7 separate regions of the Homo sapiens genome follow, and all the other regions are linked to region 1. Evidence: promoter capture Hi-C in 16 types of primary human blood cells and fetal thymus (Javierre and others, 2016). All regions are on one chromosome and are shown on one strand. The core of a region is centred on a gene start or on the middle of the fragment in contact, and the rest is flanking DNA. Distances in the headings are between cores, read along the strand shown. Region 1 holds the start of SARAF (store-operated calcium entry associated regulatory factor). Region 2 overlaps KIF13B (kinesin family member 13B). Region 3 overlaps KIF13B (kinesin family member 13B). Region 4 overlaps KIF13B (kinesin family member 13B). Region 5 overlaps KIF13B (kinesin family member 13B). Region 6 overlaps DUSP4 (dual specificity phosphatase 4). Region 7 has its middle 46 kb from the start of DUSP4.

The links. The method cuts DNA at HindIII sites, captures the fragments that hold promoters and counts their contacts. A CHiCAGO score of 5 or more calls a contact.
Region 2: a contact is called between a fragment that was not itself captured here and the fragment with the promoter of SARAF in region 1, in 2 of 17 cell types (M1 macrophages and monocytes). The highest score is 6.5, in M1 macrophages.
Region 3: a fragment that was not itself captured here is called in contact with the fragment with the promoter of SARAF in region 1 in 1 of 17 cell types (monocytes); the score reaches 5.1 in monocytes.
Region 4: a contact is called between a fragment that was not itself captured here and the fragment with the promoter of SARAF in region 1, in 1 of 17 cell types (monocytes). The highest score is 5.0, in monocytes.
Region 5: a contact is called between a fragment that was not itself captured here and the fragment with the promoter of SARAF in region 1, in 1 of 17 cell types (monocytes). The highest score is 6.1, in monocytes.
Region 6: a contact is called between a fragment that was not itself captured here and the fragment with the promoter of SARAF in region 1, in 17 of 17 cell types (fetal thymus, activated CD4 T cells, M0 macrophages and 14 more). The highest score is 26.2, in fetal thymus.
Region 7: a contact is called between a fragment that was not itself captured here and the fragment with the promoter of SARAF in region 1, in 1 of 17 cell types (activated CD4 T cells). The highest score is 5.0, in activated CD4 T cells.

Annotation. Positions count from the first base shown.
Region 1 is chr8:30,081,801-30,084,320 of GRCh38, reverse strand. It overlaps SARAF (store-operated calcium entry associated regulatory factor), which reads left to right and starts at 1,257. Exons shown (of 6, transcript NM_016127.6): 1 at 1,257-1,474. The coding sequence starts at 1,372. RefSeq lists a silencer at 934-1,303 and an enhancer at 1,344-1,693. The HindIII fragment of the contact is 3,638 bases long and covers 962-2,520 here.
Region 2 is chr8:29,199,977-29,202,496 of GRCh38, reverse strand. All of the region lies in intron 2 of KIF13B (kinesin family member 13B), which reads left to right. Among named protein-coding and RNA genes, the nearest start is that of KIF13B, 62 kb to the left of the region's middle. The HindIII fragment of the contact is 1,398 bases long and covers 557-1,954 here.
Region 3 is chr8:29,219,257-29,221,776 of GRCh38, reverse strand. All of the region lies in intron 2 of KIF13B (kinesin family member 13B), which reads left to right. It also overlaps the pseudogene HMGB1P23. Among named protein-coding and RNA genes, the nearest start is that of KIF13B, 43 kb to the left of the region's middle. The HindIII fragment of the contact is 9,413 bases long and covers 1-2,520 here.
Region 4 is chr8:29,236,045-29,238,564 of GRCh38, reverse strand. All of the region lies in intron 2 of KIF13B (kinesin family member 13B), which reads left to right. Among named protein-coding and RNA genes, the nearest start is that of KIF13B, 26 kb to the left of the region's middle. The HindIII fragment of the contact is 8,290 bases long and covers 1-2,520 here.
Region 5 is chr8:29,255,579-29,258,098 of GRCh38, reverse strand. The region is part of intron 1 of KIF13B (kinesin family member 13B); the gene reads left to right. Among named protein-coding and RNA genes, the nearest start is that of KIF13B, 6.2 kb to the left of the region's middle. The HindIII fragment of the contact is 2,764 bases long and covers 1-2,520 here.
Region 6 is chr8:29,338,254-29,340,773 of GRCh38, reverse strand. DUSP4 (dual specificity phosphatase 4) reads left to right here. Exons shown (of 4, transcript NM_001394.7): 2 at 531-676; 3 at 2,273-2,492. Among named protein-coding and RNA genes, the nearest start is that of DUSP4, 11 kb to the left of the region's middle. RefSeq lists an enhancer at 268-562. The HindIII fragment of the contact is 1,897 bases long and covers 309-2,205 here.
Region 7 is chr8:29,395,729-29,398,248 of GRCh38, reverse strand. No RefSeq gene overlaps it. Among named protein-coding and RNA genes, the nearest start is that of DUSP4, 46 kb to the right of the region's middle. The HindIII fragment of the contact is 1,471 bases long and covers 529-1,999 here.

The DNA of each region.
Region 1 (2,520 bases), core at 8-2,507:
TCAGGCGATTCACCTGCCTTGGCCTTCCAAAATGCTGGGATTACAGGCATGAGCCACCACGCCCGGCCTGGAAACCCTAATTTATAGCTGGTTGGTCAGAAGCATAGGTCACAACCTGAGACTTGTGATTGATGTCTGAAGTTGGGGCCATCTTGTGGGACTGAACTCTTTATAGGATCTGACCAAATAACTCTTCCTCGAAACACAAAGTTAGGGCTTTTGCATCCACTGTTCCCCAGATGGGAAGATGAGTCCCCTGATCTTTGTACGGCTAGTTCTTTCTCATCATTCAGGTCCCAAGCTTCAAAAACCACTTCCTCAGCAAGGCCCTCCCTGAAGTTGTGTCCCCAGGCTCCATTATATCACCCTGTTTTTCATCAATGTTATTACCTATCATTACCTATTATTTTTGTTGTTTAATTGGTATGTCGTTTGTCCTATTCTATTTCAATGAGTACAGGGATCTTGTCTGTACCATCCATGCCTAAAACAGTGCCTGGTGCGTATTAGGTATTCAACATATATTCATTGAATGAATGAATGAATGAATGAATGAATGAATGAATGAAAGAAACCCAAGCCTGCTAGACCTCAAAAGCCCAGAGAACTGTTTTCTCTGGCTGGTTCTTCATTCAGACGATATTTTCTCCTCTTGACATTTTATAGTCTTCCGGCCTCCATGCGCAAGGAACCATGTAAAGGTTCTGAGCCTTGAAACCAGACAATGTATTTCCCTGTTACTTTTCGCTTGAATCTTCTCTGTATTTAGCAACCAGTCATAGAACACTAACCATGTACCAAGCGCTATGCTAAGTGCTGAACACATAGAGCTGAATAAAGCACAGAACTACCCTTGGTACAATTATTGAGGTTTTAATAATACATAATTTGACTACATTTCTTAGATTTCGCGTCGTGACGTTTTCAGCCTCTCAAACTGCATCGCCTACGCACAGAAGCTTCCCGAATCTCAGACGAGACACAACAAAGCTGCGCGCTGCCCTCGCCCCGCCCGCGGGCGCGGCGGCGACAGGCCCTCGGCCCCGCCCACACCGCGGCGCCACGCCTCCAACCCGCCTCCAGCCGTGCCTCCCCAGGCCCTTGGCCCCGCCCACACCGCCTCGCCCCGCCCCAAGCCGCGCTGTGCTCCAGGGGCGGGGGCCCACGGCGGCCACTCACTGAGCCCCACGGGCCGCAGCGGCAGTGACGTAGGGTTGGCGCACGGATCCGTTGCGGCTGCAGCTCTGCAGTCGGGCCGTTCCTTCGCCGCCGCCAGGGGTAGCGGTGTAGCTGCGCAGCGTCGCGCGCGCTACCGCACCCAGGTTCGGCCCGTAGGCGTCTGGCAGCCCGGCGCCATCTTCATCGAGCGCCATGGCCGCAGCCTGCGGGCCGGGAGCGGCCGGGTACTGCTTGCTCCTCGGCTTGCATTTGTTTCTGCTGACCGCGGGCCCTGCCCTGGGCTGGAACGACCCTGGTGAGTGCTGCCAGGGCCCTCAGGCGCTTCGTTCGCCCTTTTCCGCCGCCGTCAGCCGGTGCAGGCTCCCCTGCGTTTCCGTGCGCCGTCTTCCCGGAGCCTGGGTGCCCGGATTCCCCATGTCTGACCTCTTTGCTGTTCGTGCTCTCCCTGGTTCCACTGCTCTTCCCAGGCGTCTTGGGAGGCGGGTAGGGACTGCTCGAGTGGGCGGGGCGGGACGGCTGGAGATCCTTAAGGTCCCCTTTCTCCCTGCCCCGGACTCCCGGAATTTGCCCATTGTCGTCTTTCTCATCTCTGAGTATAACTGGAGAGCTGGACACTCACCTGCGCATCTGCTTTGTTGTTATGGCTGTGTGATGTCATCGTGGCCTGCTGTTGTCATGGCTGCCTGTTGCTATCGCCGGCCGTTGCCTGCCACTGGCAGTCTCTGAGTCACCCTTAGCGGACAGGGCTGCAGACCTCGCAGGTCTGTTAGCAGAATCGCAGATTGCACTCTTTTTTTTTTTTTTGAGTCGGAGTCTCACATTGTCGCCCCGGCCGCACTGCAATGACGTGATCTCGGCTCACTGCAACCTCCGCCTCCTGGGTTCAAGAGATTCTCCTGCCTCGGCCTCACCGGTAGCTGAGATTACGGGTGCCCACCACCATGCCTGGCTATTTTTTTGTATTTTTAGTAGAGACGGGGTTTTACTATGTTGGCCAGGCTGGTCTCGACCTCCTGACCTCGTGATCCACCCGCCTTCATCCTCCCAAAGTGCTGGGATTACAGGCGTGAGCCACCGCGTCTTTATGAGAACCGCTGCCTCTTATCTGACGATTGCAGTGATGTACATCGCGCGGCACCAGCTCTTCCCATTGGCTTTCACCGTAGAGAAGAATTTAAAAAATAATTTTCTCGGTTTTTTTTAGTGATGGTACATGATAAGTGGGTTTTAGGAAAGAGGTTCTTTTATGTCAGTACAGTATTAAAATTGTCTAAAGAATTTTCATGGGATCAGTAATATTCCGTGCAATTAATACGTATATGTCTATATACTTAGATACAG
Region 2 (2,520 bases), core at 6-2,505, 880 kb after region 1:
AAAGTACAAAAATTAGCTGGGCATGGTGGTGGGTGCCTGTAGTCCCAGCTACTTGGGAGGCTGAGGCAGAAGAATCGCTTGAACCCAGAAGGCAGAGATTACAGTGAGCCAAGATCTTGCCACTGCACTCTAGCCTGGGCAACAGAGCAAGACTCTGTCTCAAAACAACAATAAAATAAAGAGATATCCCACTTGCGGCAACCTTCCCCAGTATATCTTACTGAATGCAGCCCTGGAAGTGACCTAAAACAAGTTAGCTTCCCTGCCAGGTATGAGTCCCCTCAGCTTTGAGGCTGGGCAGCCTGTCTTCCTCTCATCTTACCCGCTCCAGCTACAGGGATTTCCCCTTCTTTCACTGGTAGAGTTTTCAAATCCCCCCGCCTCCTGAATGCTATTATTCTCCAGTCATACTCTACTTTATCAATGTTGCTATTAGAATTTATCCTTCAAAAGTGGATGGAAAATTCTAGATATTGAGGACACAACGAACAGGGCTTTTTGTGATATTTGTACTTCTTACAGAGAGTTGACTGGAGTAAGCAAATGTTGAGAAGCTTCTGTTGTGAGTGTAGTCACTTTCTAAATTTCAAGTCAGCTCGGCTTCATTCCATGTATGGAAAGTACAGTGGGGGAGGAGTGACAAAGAAAAAAATCATACTCATCACACAGATTGTTGTTTGGTTGCTGGTAGTGCCAGCCAAGTTCAAAAAAGCAACAATATCATGACGTAGTATGGCTGTATTAGAATAAGCTCTTTGTGATGTATACATCCGTTATACAGCGGGTTGGGGTGGGGTCTTGTTGAACCAGAGATTCCAAATATTTCAGTTGTGAAGATTTCAGCAACTCAGACCTTTAGAATTAAAAGAGATGATGGGATTTGGATTCAGTATTTGATTTTGGTAGTTGACAACAGTAAATGATCTATAACTTTCCTTTCTACTGATATTATTTTGTGTTTTACACATATGTGATACTGTGTGGTTTACTTTTGGACCCAATATCAATTTTTTTTGTGTCATGGACAGAAGTATTACAACATTTTCAGAGGTGATGAGTTTATAAAATTTCTTCTTCGTATTTTGGCATTCTAGAGATTACAGATATAATTTGATTTCTTTGTATGATGTGATTTGTTATTCAAATGAGAAGTGAGCATGAGCCCACAAGCCAGATCAGTAAAAAGGAGGAAGAGGTTAGTTTATTCATAGATAACTGTCTTTATCCCAGATATGCAGCCATATTGTTTGTTGTTTCCCAAGCTGCCTGCTTCCAAAAAAGCACATTCATCCATGGTCATCCACCTGGGCTGGGGAGGTCTCCAGTAACTAAACAGTCACTATTTGGGAGATAGTAATTGTTGCAGGCAAGAATTATAAGTGGGTGCTAAAATTTGCAGGTGAAAGTATGACGATGAGAAACAGAGTGTTTACATAGTTTAAAAGTTTATCCCCCACATGATTCTTATTTGTTACGAAGGTAAAAATAGTAATTTTACTGTGGGAAACCTCATAGATCCAGCCTTGACCAAGTGATCAGAATTAACATGATCAGTAATGGCACATGCACCTCATATGACTCTTGGTAGAATGCACCAAGGAGGGCGCAATGTGACTTCAGTGGTGGGCTTGCCAAAATGCACAATCTGGATTTAGTCAGGAGGAAGCATTAGGCAAACCCAGATTGAGGGACATTCTACAAAATAAATGGCCAGTCCTCTTCAAGTGTCAAGGTCATGACAGACAAAGTGCCCCAGGTTGGAGGAGACATGACAAGTATATGTAACACAAGGTCTTGGACCAAAAAAAGGACATTAGTGGGGGTAATTGGCAAAATTTGGAGGAGGTTGTCTATAGGTTATTTAATAAACTGTGTTGATGGTTAATTTCTTGGTTTTGGTCATTGTAGCTGTGGTGATATAAGAAATATTTGGTGGTTAACATTTGAGGAAGCTTGGAGAAGGGTGTACAGGATTTTTTTGTACTATTTTTGGAGCTTTTTGTAAGCCTGAAAGTATTTCAAAATAAAGTTAAGCAACAACAACAACAAAAATAATTCAACTCAGCTGAGAAATTACAGCTTTAGTGCTTGTACTTGAGACATTTCTCTGGATTGGTCAGCAGCTGCTTTTGCTTCCTGAATCTCCACAGTGATCTGGATAGTTGAGGTTTCTAATTAAGGGATCTTGGGATGAGTGAGACATGGCTGTATTGAATTGCAGCTACACTTTGACAAGGTGTTGTTTAATTAATTAATTTATTTATTTTTGTACAGGGTTGTAATTACATCTTTGGGTGTCCCATGCCTTTGCAGGTTATTTGAGCTTTACTGTCATAGCCATCAGAATCCCTAGCTGCAAACTTAGCTCTGTAATTAATTTACTGGTTTGTTTCTGTTTTTATTATGATGATGTGAATTCAGGTTAGTCCCATGGATTCTTCTGCTATGTGTCATATGTTATTGAATTTCATACTTGTTGTTTGTCTTAGGAAGAGTTGATGTTTTTGGTATAAAAACATT
Region 3 (2,520 bases), core at 11-2,510, 860 kb after region 1:
ATCCTTTGCAACTATTCAAACTTAATTTTGAAAAATCTTGTACATTGACTTAAAAATGTGTGAGCAGTTACAAGGCTTCACAAAATTCTTTTGGGGCACACGAGCAATAATACTTCAATTACTCTAGGTGATACATGTGTACCTTGGATAATTAAGATTCATATTAAAATCATATTGGATACATATTCATTGACTCCTTGAAGAAGATTAAGTTCATATGTGCAATCCTTTTTACCTCTTCTCCTATTTCATTTTTATATTAGTTTCAGTGCTTTTCTGTGCTGCTTTTTCTTTCCTTTTTTTTTTTTTTTAAATACAGGGTCTCACTCTGTTGCCCAAGCTGGAGTGCAGTGGCACGATCACAGCTCACTGCAGGTCGGGTGCGGTGGCTCATGCCTGTAATCCCAGCATTTTGGGAGGCCGAAGCGGGCAGATCACTTGAGGTCAGCAGTTCGAGACCAGCCTGCCCAACATGGCAAAACCCCGCCTCCACTAAAAACACAAAAATTAGCTTGGTGTGGTGGCACATGCCTGTAATCCCAGCTACTTGGGAGGCTGAGGCAGGAGAATTGCTTGAACCTGGGGGGTGGAGGTTGCAGTGAGCTGAGATCATACCACTGCACTCCAGCCTGGGTGACAGAGTGAGACTCCATCTCAAAAAAAAAAAAAAAAAAAAAAAGAACACAGCTCACTGCAGCCTCAGCTTCCCTGGGCTCAGGTGATCCTCCCACAGCAGCCTCTTGAGTAGGTGACACTACAGGTGCATGCCACCGCACCCAGTTAATGTATGTACATATTTAAATTTTAACATATAAAAATATATTTATTTATAGAGATGGGGTTTTGCTGTGTTGCCCAGGCTGGTCTTGAACTCCTGGGTTCAAGCGATCCACTTGTCTTGGCCTCCCAAAGTACTGAGATTTTCTGGGATGTTTTTACATAACGTATTGATACTCATATTTCTTGTTAAATCAACCTTAAACGTTATCTCTCTACTCTTTTCTTACCAACATTATGAGACCCCGTGTTTCTCCTTCCTGCGCTCTTTTACAAGCCACCTTTCTTTATGCATAAGTTGACATTGGTGTGTATGTTTGTATGTATCTTTTTCTGTCAGTGCTAGACCAAAGGGTGTCTTAGGCTTCCTCGTCCTTCTCTGTGGGCTTATTATCAAAACCCATGGGCTGTTTCATGGAGACTGTCCTAATATAGACTTTTTTTTTTAAATAAAGAAATTTTATTTACTTAGAAACATTCAGAATGTCAACAAACCAGCTGTCGCCTTCCCCTCCTTGCCAGTTACTGAGTAGTGTTCAGTTAACAGAACAACAGTTATTTTATATAAGCTGCATCAGAGACAACTGAAGATGAAAAAGCAACAACCATCCCCATATGTAACTAGCTGTCCTGAGCACTGGCAAGACCTGCTTTAAATTTCCATGCCAGTTTACAGCCCCGTAGAGTACCAGGCAAGGCTAGTGACCACTGGGAATACCATCAGGACAGGGCTCTCTGAAGACACATTGGGTAGTACATTAACTATACAAAAGAAGATACTGCACAGTTTAAAAACAAGTCTCACGTAGCCTTACATTTCAGTTTTTTTCTTTAAAGGAGTGAGTTGTGTACAGGGGGGTTAAATTTTTATAGACAAAAATGTATTAGAACCAACTTATTCATCATCATCACTTTCATTTCATTTTTTATTTTTTGAGAGAGGGTCATCACTCTGTTGCCCAGGCTGGAGTGCAGTGGCATGATCTCGGCTCACTGCAAGCTCTACTTCCTGTGCTCATGTGATCCTTCCACCTCAGCCTCCCAGGTAGCTGGGATCATAGGCATGCACCACCACACCCGGCTAATGTTTTGTATTTTTAGTAGAGATGGGGTTTCACCATGTTCCCCAGGCTGGTCTTGAATTCCTGGGTTCAAGCGATCTGCCTGCCTTGGCCTCCCACAGTGTTGGGATTACAGGCGTGAGCCACCGAGGCTTGCCTTATTTATTTATTTATTTATTTATTTATTTATTTTGGAAACAGGGTGTCACCCAGGCTGGAGTGCAGTGACACAATCTTGGCTCACTGAAGCCTCTGCCTCCCCGACTCAGGTGATTTTCTCACCGCAGCCTCCCGAGTTGCTGGGACTATAGGCACCATGCTTGGCTAACTTTTTTTGTATTTTTTGTAGAGATGGGGTTTCACCATGTTGCCAAGGCTAGTCTTGAACTCCTGGGCTCAAGCGATTCAACTGTCTCAGTTCCCAAAGTACTGGGATTACAGGCATGAGGCACCGTGCCTGACCCATCATCTTCATTTTCTTTTCTACTCCTCCTTTTCGTCTTCATCTTTCTCTTCTTCTTCCTCTTCCTTTTCTTGCTTTTTTGCAGCCTTGATGACTGCCTTTTTCACCCCATCAGGCTTTTCTTGAGTTCATATGCAGTAATAGACTTTTTGTGTTTTCTTTCAGCTTAGCAGCCCTCTGGTCTTGGGTCTGCCTGGCATCGGCAGCAGCGTTATTATT
Region 4 (2,520 bases), core at 10-2,509, 850 kb after region 1:
ATGGGAAGACTGAGATGTTGATCACATCATCTTTTTTAGTAAGGCCATTAAAAATCTTTTTGTTCCTTCTGATAGTTTTACTAGACATCAATTTAGTCAGTATCATTAGGTAATTAATGAGTACCTAATATGAACAAAACACACCCAACCCTTCTTTGGAGCTTCAGTGTACTCTGACCCTGGTGGATGTACAGATTGGAGCCCTTAAAGTATGTGCAGAATTGAGTGAGTTTGACCCATGTCCATACACTTCTCTTGCAAATTATATTGCATAATGCTACTGAGGGGAGGGCCTTATGGCATACATGAAGTCATTTTCAGACTAATTCCTTGTTAGTGGAAGGCATCATTAGGTCATATTAGATAATGACTTTTTAGATTTCTCTACTGCTATATGGATGCTAATTTAAATAGCGATTTTAATTGAAGGAAGTCATGCAAAATGTAATTATGGTACCCACAATAGACCTGTTTGTTCTCTCTGCTGTGAAATGACTTGAGTGGGGCTAATATTTCTCCTCAAATAGAGTCTGCTCCTCTGGAGAACAGTACGTGGTATGTTTTAATTTCATAATGGGGCTCTTCCTCAGGGAGCCCGTCCTGCTAATTTTATTAGAGTACAGTGGGGAGAGCGTGGTTCTGTGTACTCAGAAGTTGTATATGATTCCTCAGCCTCTCCCTTTAAAAAGAATACTGTGATCATTTACTACTTTTGAATATACTTGTGAAGATGAATCAGGGAGACTCTTAAAAGCTAAAAAGATAAGAAAATATGTGTGGTTGAATGCATATCATTGCATAATTAATGGAAGCAGGTAGTCAAATTGCAGCAAATACAAATTTTGCAAAGTTTTACCAGCAGAGTCTAGCTGGTTGCCAAAATAAACTGGTAGCCAATAGACTGCTACTATAGAATTTGATATTTTAGCATTATCATTGAATATAAATATTATTTTGCTCATGCTTTTACTACTTTTGGTGCAGCAATAAGAAGGAATAAACTTTTTAAAAAATACAAGAAAAGAGTCTTTCTTTAGCTCTGTGCTTGAATTACTACCTGGATACTAACATTTGATATGTGGACTCAGGGTTTGTGTATATGGTTAGTTGCCAGCTCTAGATTAAGTTAGTTATGGATAATAGGAATTACGTGTTTTGAATTTCCCTAGAATTCTGGACTCAGCATAAAGTGGTCAGATTGCATATAATATATTAAATAAAATATCTAATTATGAACACAGTTTAGGCAACTACCAGGTCCTACTATTGCATTTTTTTTTTGGCTTATTTTGCTTAGTTTTTTTGACAGTACTTTTTTAGCGCTCTTTGTCTCAATCTGTAGGATAGAAATTGTTACTAATATAAATCAGATGCTGTATAAGAATCTAGATTTCTGTTTTAAAGATGGAGGGAGCAGTATTCCTTGAGGAAATGTGACATGAGAAACCCATTCAGCCACAAAAGTTGTTGTATCATAACATGTTTATAATTTTTTCTGATGCATTCAATATTCGAACATCAACAGTGTGCCAAGTATCAAGCTGAGAGTTAGGTTAATCTTTACCAATCCTTAGTTCCATTAAATTTATGGTGTTATTAATTTTTTTACATGATGTATCTATAAGCATACTAGTAAAAAAAAGCAAAACAAAAAACTGGAAAGCAGAAAAAGTTATTCTGTTGTGCATCTTGTTAGATTTTGCACACTCAAATTTGAAATGATTTGATTGTTTAATTTTGAGAATTGTACATTTTCTTGTGAGAAAGTTTTCTTTTACAAAGAAAAGCGTTTAGAACTCTGGAGTCCTCAAACTTCTTCCACAGAGTTCTTTTAAAAAGCACAGGTATTTTATAGATGGTAAATTTCACCTTTGCTTTACTTCTATCAAACGTAATTTATATATACTTTTAATTAAGTAAAAACTTATATAGGATGGGTCATAATTATTAAGAGTAGTGACTATCTTTATGTTTTGACCTGTATATACAAGTCAGTAATCCTTTTGTTCCACTTTTAGGAAAATTGAAATAGAATTTATGTAAAGATCATCGAATATGTAAAAGTTTTATTTGCAATTTAATTTTTAAAAACTTTTGTTATGGAGAATTTAAAAGATATGCCAATTTAGGCAGAATAGTATAATAGTATAATGAACCTCCATGCTCTTGTCACTCACCCCTGAAAACCATTAATTTGTGGCTGATACTGTCCTAGCTACATCTTCATCCCTGTCTTCTTCCCCATATTATTTTGAAGGAGATCTGATTTTACCCACAGATGTTTTAATGTATCTTTTATTATTTGTAAACATAACCTCAATACCATTTATCATATCTAAACAATTTAAAATAGGTGTGAGGAGGAGGAAAAAAATATAGTGAGGTGGTGGCATCAAATTTTCAGTGTTTAAATGCCCAATTATCTCATCAAGTCTTTTTTTCCCCGAAGTTTGTTTTGAATAGGATTGAGATGTGGTCTGCACTTTGAGGTTGGGTGGTATGGTTTTTAATTTATTGGCT
Region 5 (2,520 bases), core at 11-2,510, 830 kb after region 1:
AGATGTGGAGCCAAGGAGGACCGTGGATGGAAATTTCTGGCAGTATTTGCTAAAACAGAAGATACTTGTTTTGTCAGCATCTGCTTGACATGCTAATGGTGAATGAGACACACATGTATTACAACATTGTTTTGTTTCTACTGTCAACTCAGTGACTGAAATTTGGATATATGCACATAGGGCCAGAGGCATTTTGAGAAGAAGGTATACTTTTAAATTCTTTTCCCCAAATCTCCTGTTTTTTGTTTGTTGGTTGGTTTCTTTGTTTTTATTTATTTATTTTTTTTGAGACAGGGTCTCCCTCTGTTGCCCAGGCTGGAGTGCAGTGGCATGATCATCACTCACTGCATCCTCAACCTCAACCTCCTGGGCTCTAGCGATATTCCTGCTGCAGCCTGCTGTGGAGTTGGTACATAGGTGTGCACAACCATGTCTGTCTAATTTCAATATTTTTTGTAGAGATAGGGTCTCACTTTGTTGCTCTGGCTGGCCAGACCTCTTTTCAAGAAATATACATTTATAATATAAAATACAATGTTGTTTAATTGGCATTAGCTTTTACCCTCTCACCTCCATAAAACAATAACTGTCCGACTTTTCCACTTCTTAAGTGCTGAAAATGGAAGAAACCACTGACAAAACTATTAATTAAGGAGATGGATTGAAGTGCTGATTGAGTGGAAATGGATGTATTGATCTCTATGCTTGCTCCTCAAGTTCCCCTTGTGTTTGGCAGAGCATGTTCTTTAAAAAAAAAAACAAAAACTCGACCAAGATGAGCAGTGTGCCCTGTGACCTGGGAAGTGCGTGAAACTAACTGGTCCACTCCATGCAAGTCCATGACTTAACTGTATGGGGCTTTCGCTCTGAGGAGATAAAGATATCTTTAGAAAATGGTATCCATTAGTCATTCATTTCAACAGTGTTGACTGAAGAAAAAGAAAATAGCTGCTTTTTGACAACTTTCTATTTGCGAGCAATGGAGTTCAATGCTTTTTAATGCATTATTTTATTCTTCAAACCAGACTTTGAAAAGGAATTGTAGGCCAGGTGTGGTGGCTCACCCCTGTACTCCCAGCACTTTGGGAGGCCGAGGTGGGTGGATCACTTGAGGCCAGGAGTTTGAGACCAGACTGGCCAACATGGTGAAACCCTGTCTCTACTAAAAATACAGAAACTAGCTGGGTGTGGTGGTGAGTGCCTGTAATCCCAGCTACTCAGGAGGCTGAGGTGGGATAATCGCTTCAACCTGGAAGGCGGAGGTTGCAGTGAGCTGAAATCGCACCACTGCACTCTAGCCTGGGCGACAGAGCGAGACTGTCTCAAAACAAACAAACAAACAAACAAAAAAAGTAGTAATTGTAGCATTTCTATGTAGCAGAACCTCAGAGAGGTTAATTAACATTCCCAGAATTACAAAACCCACCTGTGCTTTTACTACAATGTTGGACATGATTATCTTTAAGAGGATCTTGCTATCCTGAGATGACACCATTTTCAAAGATGTGCAGGATAAACTGGAAGCATAAGTCTTGATCTTCCATCAAAGGAGCTCCCAGTCTTGTTGATAATAAGATGCACATGTGAGTTCATTGGAAGAATATATGTACCTAGTGCACTGATGGCAGCCAATCATGAATTAAAGAAATGGGGGTGGAATTTGAGAACAGCACAGAAGACAGCACAAGCAGGCCCCTTGGCTCCAAGTTCCACCGGGGTGACGTGGAGGAATCCAGATGGGTGCTGCACATACAGTGGGTTTGTGTCGGCATCTGAGGATCACTGAACTTGGGGAATCCGCTGCAAAGTCTCTGATTTAGATGACTAGGTGAATGCTGGTGTCATTAACTGAATCAGAAGCACAGGAGAAGCAGGTTTTAGGGTGGAGGTGTGGGAAATGATGAGTTCTAGTCTCAGTCAACAGTGTGTCGTCAGTGCTTATGTGCTGTGTACCCTGCCTGCAACTATGAATAAGATGCAGTGTGTGCCTGGAAGCAACTCAGCACAATTGAGTTTTAGGTGTCTGAAGTGCAGCCAGGTGGATGGATCCAGAAGGCCATTGTGAATATGAGTCTGAAACGAAGGGACTGGACGTAGGTGTAGATTTCGGAGTCATTACTGTAGGTAGAAGATAGAGCACCTCAGGTGTGTCTGTGACAGAGGCGGTCACAGAGGCCAAGAAGAGCAACCTCAGGAGAATCAGGTGAAAGCAATGTTGTGGATGCCTAGGGAGGAAAAATGTGTCAAAAGAGTGAAAGGTGAAAGCAATCACATGTCACAGGAATGGCCGCGTGATTAACACAGAATTGTGTTCAGTGGATTTGGCATTATGATGGTCAGTGTTCATTTTCAGGATAATTTCACTGAAACGAATTAATTGGTATTGGGCATTGGCAGTGGGCTGAGGAGTGAGTGGGCGTGCCAGTATGGAGGCAGCGAGTCTCAAGAACATTCCTCTGAGAAACTCCAGGTAGAAGGGGAGGGTTCAGAGTGGTACCTGGAGGGGTAGGTACCTTTTTT
Region 6 (2,520 bases), core at 8-2,507, 740 kb after region 1:
GTGACGGAACAGCTATTCATGAGGACGTGCAATGGACATCTGTTCCATTGCTGAGATCCAGAAGAGTTTGTACCAGGGTCATTTTTTCCCTTCTTTCTCACATTGGAGAACCTCCCCTGAGGAAGGGCTGGAATCAGGGGTGGCAGGTGTCTCTACAGGTACTTAGTGTCCTTGGAAGCCCAGCGTGACCTTTGCTTCTCTATTTTGTCATTGTCCTGAGGAGCTACTCCACAGTCACTTCTGCACATCCCCCTGCACGTCTTCCTTTGTATGTCTACCTCTCTAACCCAAGTCTTGTCCATAAAGCTTATCCTTCCAGCTTTGCTGCAGTCCTGACGAGTGTGTCCTCTGCATCTCTGGAAACCACTCCATGGCCATTCTCTAGGTCCACAGCGCCACCTAGTGGCCAATATGGAGCACGCCAGCCCCTGCCTTCCTAGCAGTCCGCCTGAGTCTGTAGGAGTCGAGTTCTTTCTGACTTCCTGCTGGCTTAGTGACCCCATTAACCTGAGCTTCTTTCTCCTTTACAGGCGGCTATGAGAGGTTTTCCTCCGAGTACCCAGAATTCTGTTCTAAAACCAAGGCCCTGGCAGCCATCCCACCCCCGGTTCCCCCCAGTGCCACAGAGCCCTTGGACCTGGGCTGCAGCTCCTGTGGGACCCCACTACACGACCAGGTAGACTCGGGGGGCAGGGCTTGGAAGTGGGGGGCAGGAACAGCGTAGGGGCCAGTGGATGCCTTCTTTTCAGAGTTCTGACGGTGTTTTTTGTCTTTGCTTTTGAGACAGTCTTGCTCTGTCACCCAGGAGTGCAGTGGTGTGATCATAGCTTACTGCAGCCTCGAACTCCTGGGCTCAAGGGATCCTCCCTGGTAGCTGGGACTACAGGTGGCACTACCATGCCTGGCTAATTTTAAAAGGTTTTTGGTAGAGATGGGGGGGGGGGGTCTTGCTATGTTGCCCAGGCTGGTCTTGAACTCCTGGCCTCAAGTGATCCTCCTGCTTTGGCCTCCCAAAGTGTTGGGATCACAGGCGTGAGCCACTGCATCCAATCCTGAGATTTTTTTAAGTCTTTGAATGTTATGCCTCAATTTGGGGAGAATGCGGTGAACCCGGAGTATTGGGGTGGGATGTTAGGTAGGACCTATTTACTTCTTGGAAATCTTCCCCTTCCCTCTCTAAATATCCTCCTAAGAAAAAAGTCTAAAGACATGACTCCCTGGCTTGGCCTCTAACGTCGTGTCCGGACAAGTGAGGAGGCCTCCAGAAGCCCTGGGGGACCTGCTCTCTGGGAAGCTGAGGTCATTCTCCTCTGAAGTAGCAGGCCATGAAATACATCTCAGTCCCCGACAGGCAGGCTGCTCCCACGTATCAGCCGAATGAACATAGATGGTCACCCACCCTCCCTCCAAGAAAACCTGCTTGAGCCACTGTGTTTCTTATAAGCCCACCCTCCAGCCCTTTCAGTTAGATGGACTCTGCTGCCCACATCTCATGTGCTAAATTTAAGCCACTGTTGCCTCATTTTGCCAAGATCCTCTCTCTTGTCTGTGTGGCCATGAGGGCATCAGCTTATTTATTTGTTTATTTTTAGAGACAGAGTCTCACTCTGTTACCCAGGCTTGAGTCCTGTGGCGCAATCATAGCTCACTGCAGCTTCAAAGTCCTGGGCTCAAATGATCCTCCCATTTCAGCCTCCCAAGCAACTGAGACTACAGGTGTGCACCATCATGCCAGCTTCATTGTTTGAGAGATGAGGTCTCACTGTGTTGCCCATGCTGGTCTTGGAACTCCTGGCTCACATGATCCTGCCACCTCAGCCTCCTAAAGTGCTGAGATTACAGGTGTGAGCCACTGCACACCTGTTTTTGATATGCCCAGTGAATACATATCAAAACAAATAAGTATCTAAACCACACAGCAAATGGCTTGATGATTAGCAGATATAAACTCAGTGTCACAGATGGTGCCATAAGGCCGGCATTGTCCTGCCGCTTATTTTGCCATGGGGGAGGTGCAGGAGAGTCCCACAAGACTTTACCTGCCCTGGCCTCTCTGCTCACAAGTAGAGGGCAAAGGCTGGAGAAGTCCCACTGGGCCTATCACCCCTCCAAGAGTTCCAGGAGGCTACAGGGGGAGGCTGGGAGGGCCAGGCCCAGCAGGCATTCTCCCTGGGTTTGGAAAGGAAAGCTCTTCTCAGACAAGCTTCCACTCCCTGTGCCAAGCACTTTACCCTCATGTCATTCAGGGGCCTTTGTTTCCCTTTCTGTGCAGGGGGGTCCTGTGGAGATCCTTCCCTTCCTCTACCTCGGCAGTGCCTACCATGCTGCCCGGAGAGACATGCTGGACGCCCTGGGCATCACGGCTCTGTTGAATGTCTCCTCGGACTGCCCAAACCACTTTGAAGGACACTATCAGTACAAGTGCATCCCAGTGGAAGATAACCACAAGGCCGACATCAGCTCCTGGTTCATGGAAGCCATAGAGTACATCGGTAGGCTGGCCCTGCTCTGGGGTTCCTG
Region 7 (2,520 bases), core at 15-2,514, 690 kb after region 1:
TTGCACAGGAAAGGGTCTAGGAGGGTTACTGTCCCACAGGGCCATCATAGCATGTTATAACCCTTTGCCCTTTGAACTCTGTGTGTTTTGTGCTTTGGGCATTTACAGCATTCTCTGTCATACTTGTAGCTTTGTGTCTGTATCCACACAGAGAGTATTTCTTCTAATAAGATGCAGATTCCTTATGGAAGAGATAATCCTTTTTTTTCTTTAGTATCCTTCACCCCACAGTGACAGGAAGAGGTTTGTATGCAGAGAAGCAGGTAATAAGCTATTATGTCTCCCATCAGAATGTTGTAATTGAGGTTGTTCACTGCCTACCATTTCATACTGGTGTCTGGGCACAGAAGCCAACCGCATTTCCCAGACTCCCTTATGGTTCAGAGTGTCATGTGACTCAGTTCTCACCCAACAGACTGTGAATGGAAATGACATGTGTCACTTCTAGGCTTGAGCGTTAGAAAGTGGCCATGCCTTTTCTGAATTATTTTGTCTTTCCTACCAGCAAACCTACTCACCACCCAAGCTTCAACCATGTAGCAATGACAAGACCATAGTTGATGGTGGAGTAACCCAGTAGAAGGAAACTGGGTCCTTGATAGCTGGTGTGGAGCAGAGCTGCCTGCCAACTGGAGTGTCTCTTTGGACTATTATATGAGAGAGGAACACAGTTCTAACTTTAACCACCAAATTATTGCTGAGTCTCAATTACTATAGCTAACCCTAAACCAACTCAGAGAAATACGAACTCCAATAGGTCAGGGATCTTACCTGCCTTGTTTATACCTGGCAGAAATAGGCATTAACAACTATTTGTTGAACTAATAAATGAAATCGCCCCCCAGAAATGTGAATGAGGAAAAATTTATGGATGAGACTAATAGGCCCTTCCTAGATGTCACTAGGAAACTTACGTAAAATGGAAACATTGCTAAGCACATTATTAGCTTAGAATTGTAATTTTTAATTGTGAAAATAAAATAATATGATGAAGTTGAGTATTGAAGGGAAAAATCTGGACGTACTGATTGGCCCATTCTTCTCCAACACCATTAATAGGAGACAGTCCCTGACCCAGTCTGCTTGACATATATAGCTGTGTAGAGAAGAGAATGAAGGATAAACCTAGCACAGATTGATGAAAACATGCTAATATTATCCAACTCTTTTTGTTCTGCTTATGATTTCACTGAGTGATCTTCCCATATTCTTTGATTTTCTAAGCAAACTTTCCCATTAGAAGATGAAGAAAAAAAGAAGCACTTATTCACCACTGCATATCAGATCAATTGTTACCTATATTCATGTATCGGTTAGGATCAACTAGGTTCTGTTGCAATAACAAAAATTCTAAAATCTACATGCTATACTGGAATAAAGTTTTAATTACTGCTAATGCTTACATGTCCATTATAGGTTCATGAGTAGGCAGTCTATGCTCATTGTAATGATCCAGGGACCTAGGATGATAGGGTACTCACTACCTCAAATGTTGTCAGTTTCTGTGCCGGAAGGAAACAGAGTGAGTTGTGGAGGGTCTTGAACCAGCAATTAAATGTTCCAGCTAATGTGACAATTGGCTTAGCTTGCTGGGGACTGTCCTGATTTAGCACTGTAATTCTCACATCCTGGGAAACCCCTCAGTCTCAGGAAACTAGGACACTTGGTCACCTTCGCTGTAGCCCAGATGTGACATATCACATTTCTACTCACAACTTAATGTCAAGACCCTGTTGTGTGTATCCTCTGCCCAACTACATGGGGGCCGAGAGGTACAATCTGAAAATGTGCCCAGAAGTAGAAAGAACCAGAAATAGTTGACAAGCAGTATGAGCATAAACTCTGATCATAAATTGGTATTCTGATTTATAAATCACTCTCTCATGAATTTATTTTTTTACTCCTTATTTTTGATTTCAGGGGAACTTGGCTATATGAGTCAATTCTGAATTTCTATCTCTATGCTAAATTATGCAGGAGCTGTAGAGATAAGTAAGCTTTAAGTCTTGCCCTCAATAGAGTTTTAAATTAATAGGGGAAAGAAGATACTAACATTATAAGATGAATGCAAAAGTACATAGAAAAGGCTGAGATGTTAACAGTAGAGAGGAATCACACCCAGTTGAAAAGTCAGTCAGGCGAATAATTCAAAAGGAATAATATTACCCCATATGATAGTATTCATCAGAGATATCAGCACACAAAAAATCAGAACCATACCATCAAGCCCTCCAAGAAACCTTGCCCAATTATCAAACCCTCCACCAAATCTTCCAAATTTAAGACTATTAAAACTGATCCCAAAGGCTGGGTTTGTTACTTACATGTTATTATCCTAGCCTTCGTATTTTACAAACCTTTGAAAAAAATTTATTTTCACTCACTCAATACTTATAGCACGCTATGTCATTTTACCAGTGTTATTTTTGCCATCACTTTTAGGAAATCTCTGCATTATTCTAAAATTCTTCAATAACATCCCTATAAGTGAAAACTGGCATTGATGTGTGGGGATGTTTT